2 separate regions of the Homo sapiens genome follow, and region 2 is linked to region 1. Evidence: promoter capture Hi-C in 16 types of primary human blood cells and fetal thymus (Javierre and others, 2016). All regions are on one chromosome and are shown on one strand. The core of a region is centred on a gene start or on the middle of the fragment in contact, and the rest is flanking DNA. Distances in the headings are between cores, read along the strand shown.

Region 1 (2,913 bases), core at 227-2,726:
TTTCGCTACAAGGACCCAGATGTCTAAGCAGTTTAACAGAAAGCTTGGCACCCCTGGGTGGTCATGCATGCCAACCAGATTTCTCATGCTTTAAGAAGTCTATTTTTTAAAACAGGATTGACCAAACTAATGGGGTCTGCTCTGGATGGTGAAAATGTTTACTTTCATTTCCCCCCAACCCCCTCGCCTCCCCAGTTCCCCCTGAATATATTCTCAAGAAAGAGTATGTCTTTGGGTGGTTGCAAGTAGGAAGTTTCAAGGCTTTTCTCCCTAACGAATACCGAACACTGAGCACACAGGAGGGGAACAGAAACTTGGAAGCAGAGCAAAGGACCAAGTTATCCTCCTGTCTAACCCTGCTCAACAGGATCACCCTGAAGTGTGGCTCTGAAGATATTTGTGAACTCTGGCACAGCTGTTTGGCAGAATTAATACTAAAACCACAGGTCTTGCAAAAACAAAGAATCAAAAAAAAAAAAAAAAAGTGAAAACCAAACAGCAGGAGGAAACCCTTAGGAAAGCTCGGTGTCTTTCAGACATGAGATTTTCTTTCTCCCACTCTACTTGACTGGCCTGACCTGGGGTCCAGTCCCACTTCCTGGTGGCTGCGGAAATCCGCAGTGAGGCTCAGTGTGGATTTTGGCTTCAGAGGATTTGGGAAATTCCACCTTTCAATCTGAAATCTGGGGAAAGTCCCAGAAAACAACGGATTACTATATTTCTCTCATGAACCAGACTGAAGCAAGGAGTCAGGTCTAGGACCAAGGACCTCGGCACTCCAGGGAGCCCAGGGCCCCTCAGAAAGGTCTCGCTTGGCCACCGAGAGCGTGGGGCCGTAGCAGTTGGCAAGCGGGGGAGGGGGGTCACGCACAACTGCTCTGGAGCCACACTGCATAAATGGCATTCGTTTTTGTTTTCTGATTAGAAAAACGTTGAAAAGAATACCAAAGTACAGAGAAAACACACCCCCATCTCCAATGTTTCCTCATTTATGTAAATATTCTCATATTTTATAAAACAGGGAGGTGCTGTCTATAATTTTTGCAGGCTTTCCTTAGCATATGGTGAGCGTGTGCCAGGTGAGCAGGAGCAGCGGGGGATGACTTCCGATCCGACACCCCCAAAATCTCCTGGACAAAGCTGCTGTCTTTGCGGGATAAACAGAAAAGGGCCAGTCCCCACCTCACCCCCAGCCCGCCGCCCCGCAAGTACCTGGGGCTGGGGAGTCAGTGAACTCTCTTCAGCTGTTCGGCTCTCCCGGCTCAGAGCGAGGGGAATCGAGGAGACTGGGCGCAGGATGGGGGTGGACACCCGGCCGCTGCTCCTCCGCGCGGGTAAGTGTGAGCCCCGGGGTGCGGGGAACCGAGCCAGGGACCAGTGACCGCGAGCCGCCGATCCTCCCGCGCTCCCGCGCGCGCGGCCTGCCTTCCCACTGGCTGGCAGAGCACGTCCTCTCGCGCCCGGGGCCTTTGTAAAGAGCGCAGCGGTGGCGCGGAGGTTTTCAGGCTCCGCCCGCTCCACTCGCGCTCCCGCCCCTTCCTTCCTCTCGAGGTGACCCGGCAGCTGGCGCCTTTCTCACCAGGTACCCAGCCCCCTGGCCGCCTCTCTCAGTTCTCTGGCAGGGTTTGGTGCGCGGTACACCGACCCGGACCGCGCCTTCCCAAACGAGTGGCCTCTCCTCCAGCCCGATTGGCGAGCTAGAGAAAAGAAGGGAACTGGATCACTTCAGCATTAAGGAGGACTTTTCCCCAAAATGAGTGTTGCCCCAGGGCGTGGGCAGGCGGGGAGCTGAACTAATCTTTCGGTGACTCCAAGGATACCAAGCAAGCCAGTGCGTGGCATGCACGAGCTCCTCTAATCATCGCAGTCCCCCTTACACATGAGTAAACCGAGGCTCAGAGAATGGTGGAGTGTGGCGAGCAGAAGTGGAATTTTTTTTTTCTTTTTTTCTTTTTTTGAGACGAGTCTCACCGTGTCGCCCATGCTGGAGTGCAGTGGCGCCATCTCGGCTCACTGCAACCTCTGCCTCCCGCAGAGGCGGGATTTGAACTTGCTCCAGGTTGCCCTCGCCTTACACCCAGCAGAGCAGTCCAGTCGCTTTCTCTCCTGCCGCTTGCATCGTAATGGACATCCAGAGTCCACAAGTAAAAGCTGGTACATGATGAAATGGGAAACACCTCTCAGGAGTCCTTTATAGCTTAGAAGAAGGTAATGCTACCTTTCTGCCTCAGTGAAAAGATTTGGAATCACCTAAGTGTGAAGAACCTAAGGAGAGTAGGTGTCAAGAGAGGATAGACCCGGGTGCCGTGGCTCAAACCTGTAATCCCAGCACTTTGGGAGGCCGAGGTGGGCGGATCACGAGGCCAGGAGTTTGAGACCAGCCTGGCCAACATGACGAAATTCCATCTCTACTAAAAATACAAAAGTTAGTTGGGCTTGGTGGTGGGTGCCTGTAATCCCAACTACTCGGGAGGCTGAGGCAGGAGAATCACTTGAATCCGGGAGGCAGAGGTTGCAGTGAGGCCGGGATGGCGCCATTGCACGCCAGTCTGGGCAACAGAGTGAGACTCTGTTTAAAGAAAAAGAGAGAGAGAGGATAGACACTGTAGAGACCAGCAATCCCTGTTGGGAACCAGTGTCATGGAAGACTTTTTCCACAGACTGGGGTTGGGGCCACGGGAGATGGTTTCAGGATGATTCAAGCCCATTTCATTTATTGTGCACTTTATTTCTATTATTATTGCATTGTAATATATAATGAGATAATTATACAACTCACCATAATGTCGAATCAGTGGAAGTCCTGAGCTTGTTTTCATGCAACTAGACGGACACATTTGGGGGTGATGGGAGACAGTGACAGATCATCAGGCATTAGATTCTCATAAGAAGCGGGCAACCTAGATCCCTCCC
Region 2 (2,913 bases), core at 133-2,632, 320 kb after region 1:
ACAGCAGAGGTTGCAGTGAGGCAAAATCACGCCACTGCACTCCAGCCTGGGCAACAGAGCAAGACTCCATCTCAAAAAAAAAAAAAAAATGATAAACTAGGCCAGGCGTGGTGGTTCACACCTATAATCCCAACACTTTGGGGGGCTGAGGCAGGAAGATCGTTTGAGCCCAGGAGTTCAAAACCAGCAGCAACCTGGTGAAACAACATCTCAAAAAAATTTTAAAAATTAGCTGGGCAGCCGGGAGTAGTGGCTCATGCCTGTAATCCCAGCACTTTGGGAGGCCGAGGCAGGCAGATCACTTGAGGCTAGGAGTTTGAGAACAACCTGGCCAACATAGCAAATTGTTAAGCTAGTTCTAAATGTATATGCAACCATACTAAAAATACAAGAAATTAGCCAGGCATGGTGGCGCATGTCTGTAATCCCAGCTACTCGGGAGGCTGAGGCAGGAGAATTGCTAGAACCCAGGAGGCAGAGGTTTCAGTGAGCTGAGATCACGCCACTGCACTCCAGACTGGGTGACAGAGCAAGACCTTGTCTAAAAAAAAAAAAAAAATTAGCTGGGCATAGTGGTGGGCACATGTAGTCCCAGCTACTCGAGAGTCTGAGGCAGGAGGATTGCTTGAGTCCAAGAAGTTGAGGCTGCAGTGAGCCATGTTCATGCACTGCACTCCAGCCTGGGTGACAGAGTTAAGACTCTGTCTCAAAAAACAACAAAAAAAGAAAAATTTTTGATTCATCAAAGATACCATTAAGAGTGAAAAGGTAAGTAAGGGTCAGGAAAGATATTTGCAAAGCATACAACTGACAATGAGTAGGTATCCAAATTATATAAAGAATTCCAGAAAATTTTTTAAAAGATAAGCACGTCAATTAAAAAATGAGGAAGAGGCCAGGCATGGTGGCTCACGCCTGTAATCCCAGCACTTTGGGAGGACGAGGCCGGCAGATCACCTGAGGTCAGGAGTTCGAGACCAGCCTGACCAACATGGAGAAACCCCATCTCTACTAAAAATACAAATTAGCTGGGCTCAGTGGCACATGCCTGTAATCCCAGCTACTTGGGAGGCTGAGGCAGGAGAATCGCTTGAACCCAGGAGGCAGAGGTTGCAGTGAGCCAAGATCACGCCATTGCACTCCAGTCTGGGCAACAAGAGCAAAACTCTGTCTCAAAAAAAAAAAGGAAGAAAGCTGAACAGGCACTACATCAAAGAGGATAAAGAGATGGCCAATAGGCATACAAAAAAGGTCCCAACCTCACTATCAGGCAGGAAAATGCAAATTAAAACTACAACTGAAGTACCAATATATACCCACCAGAATAGCTAAAACTGAAAACCAAAAACAGCATCAAGTGTTGGTAAAGATGTAGAGTGATGGGCACTCTCATACACTCCTAATGGAAATGTAAATTATAAAAACCACTTTGGAAATCAGTTTTGCATTATGTACTAAAAGTAAATATATCCTATCCAGTGACTCAATGATGCTACTCCTAGGTAATATAACCAACATAAGTATGTCACGCATGTGTGTATATGTACATGTTCATGATGGTACTTGAATGTTCACAGCAGCAGTATCTGTAATAGTCCCTTAACACAAATAACACAAACATCTGAAGAATGGATAAATTGGGATATATTTATGCAACAGAATACTACACCAGCAATTAAAATGAATAAATTATAGCCACAGGCAACAACATAAATGAATTTCAGAATTGCAATATTAAACAAAAGAGGGCAGACACAAAGAATACACTGTGTATGATTCTATTTATATAAAGTTTTAAAAGCAAAACTAATAGATGGTTATAAGTCAAGACAGTGGATATCTTAGGGAAAAGTGAAAAGGGTAGTGATTGAAAAGGGGCAGAAGGAGAGCTTCTGAGATGCTGAGAATGCTCTATTTGTTAAAGGTGGAGGTTATATGAGTATGCTTTGTGATGATTTACTTATTTCATATATGTATTATGCTTTTTTTTCTTTATTTCTTCTCATATGTATTATGCTTTGACAAAAAGGGAAATTTAAAAAAAAATCTCTTTGATGAACACTGTTTCAAATACATGCTTATCATTCTAACCTCATGACCTCTATTTTCATCCCCAGAAATCTGCCTTTGGTAGCAACTAGAGGTACTCAGTGTCATATTTAAAGAGAGAAGGGAAATATCAGAAGAAAAAAAATCTATTAGATGTTAAACAGGTGAGTATTTTCTTTGTGTAATGTACCTGTTTGCTTTTGTCATGAATTTATAGTCTTCTCTGAAGTGAAAAGTAATCTGTTAAACTCCCAATGTTAAAAAAGTAATACATCTTTCAAGTAAAATACTTTTGTTATTTAGTTTTGAGATATTATGCTTCTTGTCAATTTACTGTACTCCTTTTTAACTTATAACTGTATAAACAACTATACTATTTTCACAAAATGTAGTATTAACATAAAGAAAATGATTTGGCAAAATGCAACTATAAAAATATTTTTACCTGCAAGAAGTCAATCTGCATACACGTGCTAGGTAACTCTGGTGTCTCTGTCATAAAGTTTTCATACTCAGTGCTATCTGGAAACTGACTGCATCCTAGCTGTGAGCTGTGTCCTCTGACCATTACACCACTAGTAGCTGATCCTTTTACTTGATGTCCTTGAAACTCAACAGGCTACAGGTAAATTATTAAAAATAAGAACTGCATAACTATATGTTGACATATATATTCACAAAGTAAACACACAGAATACAATACATAATTCAGCTTTTTATTACAGGAACTATTGTAAATACCAGGAACTAATGCTGAAAACCGGGAAATTCTCCTATTATCCTAAAACATACGTTATGGGTAACAAATTCAAAGTGCATCGATTTAACTACATTTAAGTTCAACATTAAAAAGTATGATTTAGG

The links. Contacts are between HindIII fragments. The CHiCAGO score rates a contact against its expected background, and 5 or more counts as called.
Region 2: a fragment that was not itself captured here is called in contact with the fragment with the promoter of TIFA in region 1 in 1 of 17 cell types (naive B cells); the score reaches 6.2 in naive B cells.

What each region holds. Positions count from the first base shown.
Region 1 is chr4:112,284,428-112,287,340 of GRCh38, forward strand. TIFA (TRAF interacting protein with forkhead associated domain) reads right to left here and starts at 1,477. Exons shown (of 2, transcript NM_052864.3): 1 at 1,213-1,477. RefSeq lists enhancers at 250-429, 460-579 and a silencer at 1,220-1,529. The HindIII fragment of the contact is 2,980 bases long and covers 42-2,913 here.
Region 2 is chr4:112,601,030-112,603,942 of GRCh38, forward strand. ZGRF1 (zinc finger GRF-type containing 1) reads right to left here. Exons shown (of 28, transcript NM_018392.5): 10 at 2,495-2,668. Among named protein-coding and RNA genes, the nearest start is that of ZGRF1, 34 kb to the right of the region's middle. The HindIII fragment of the contact is 4,836 bases long and covers 1-2,913 here.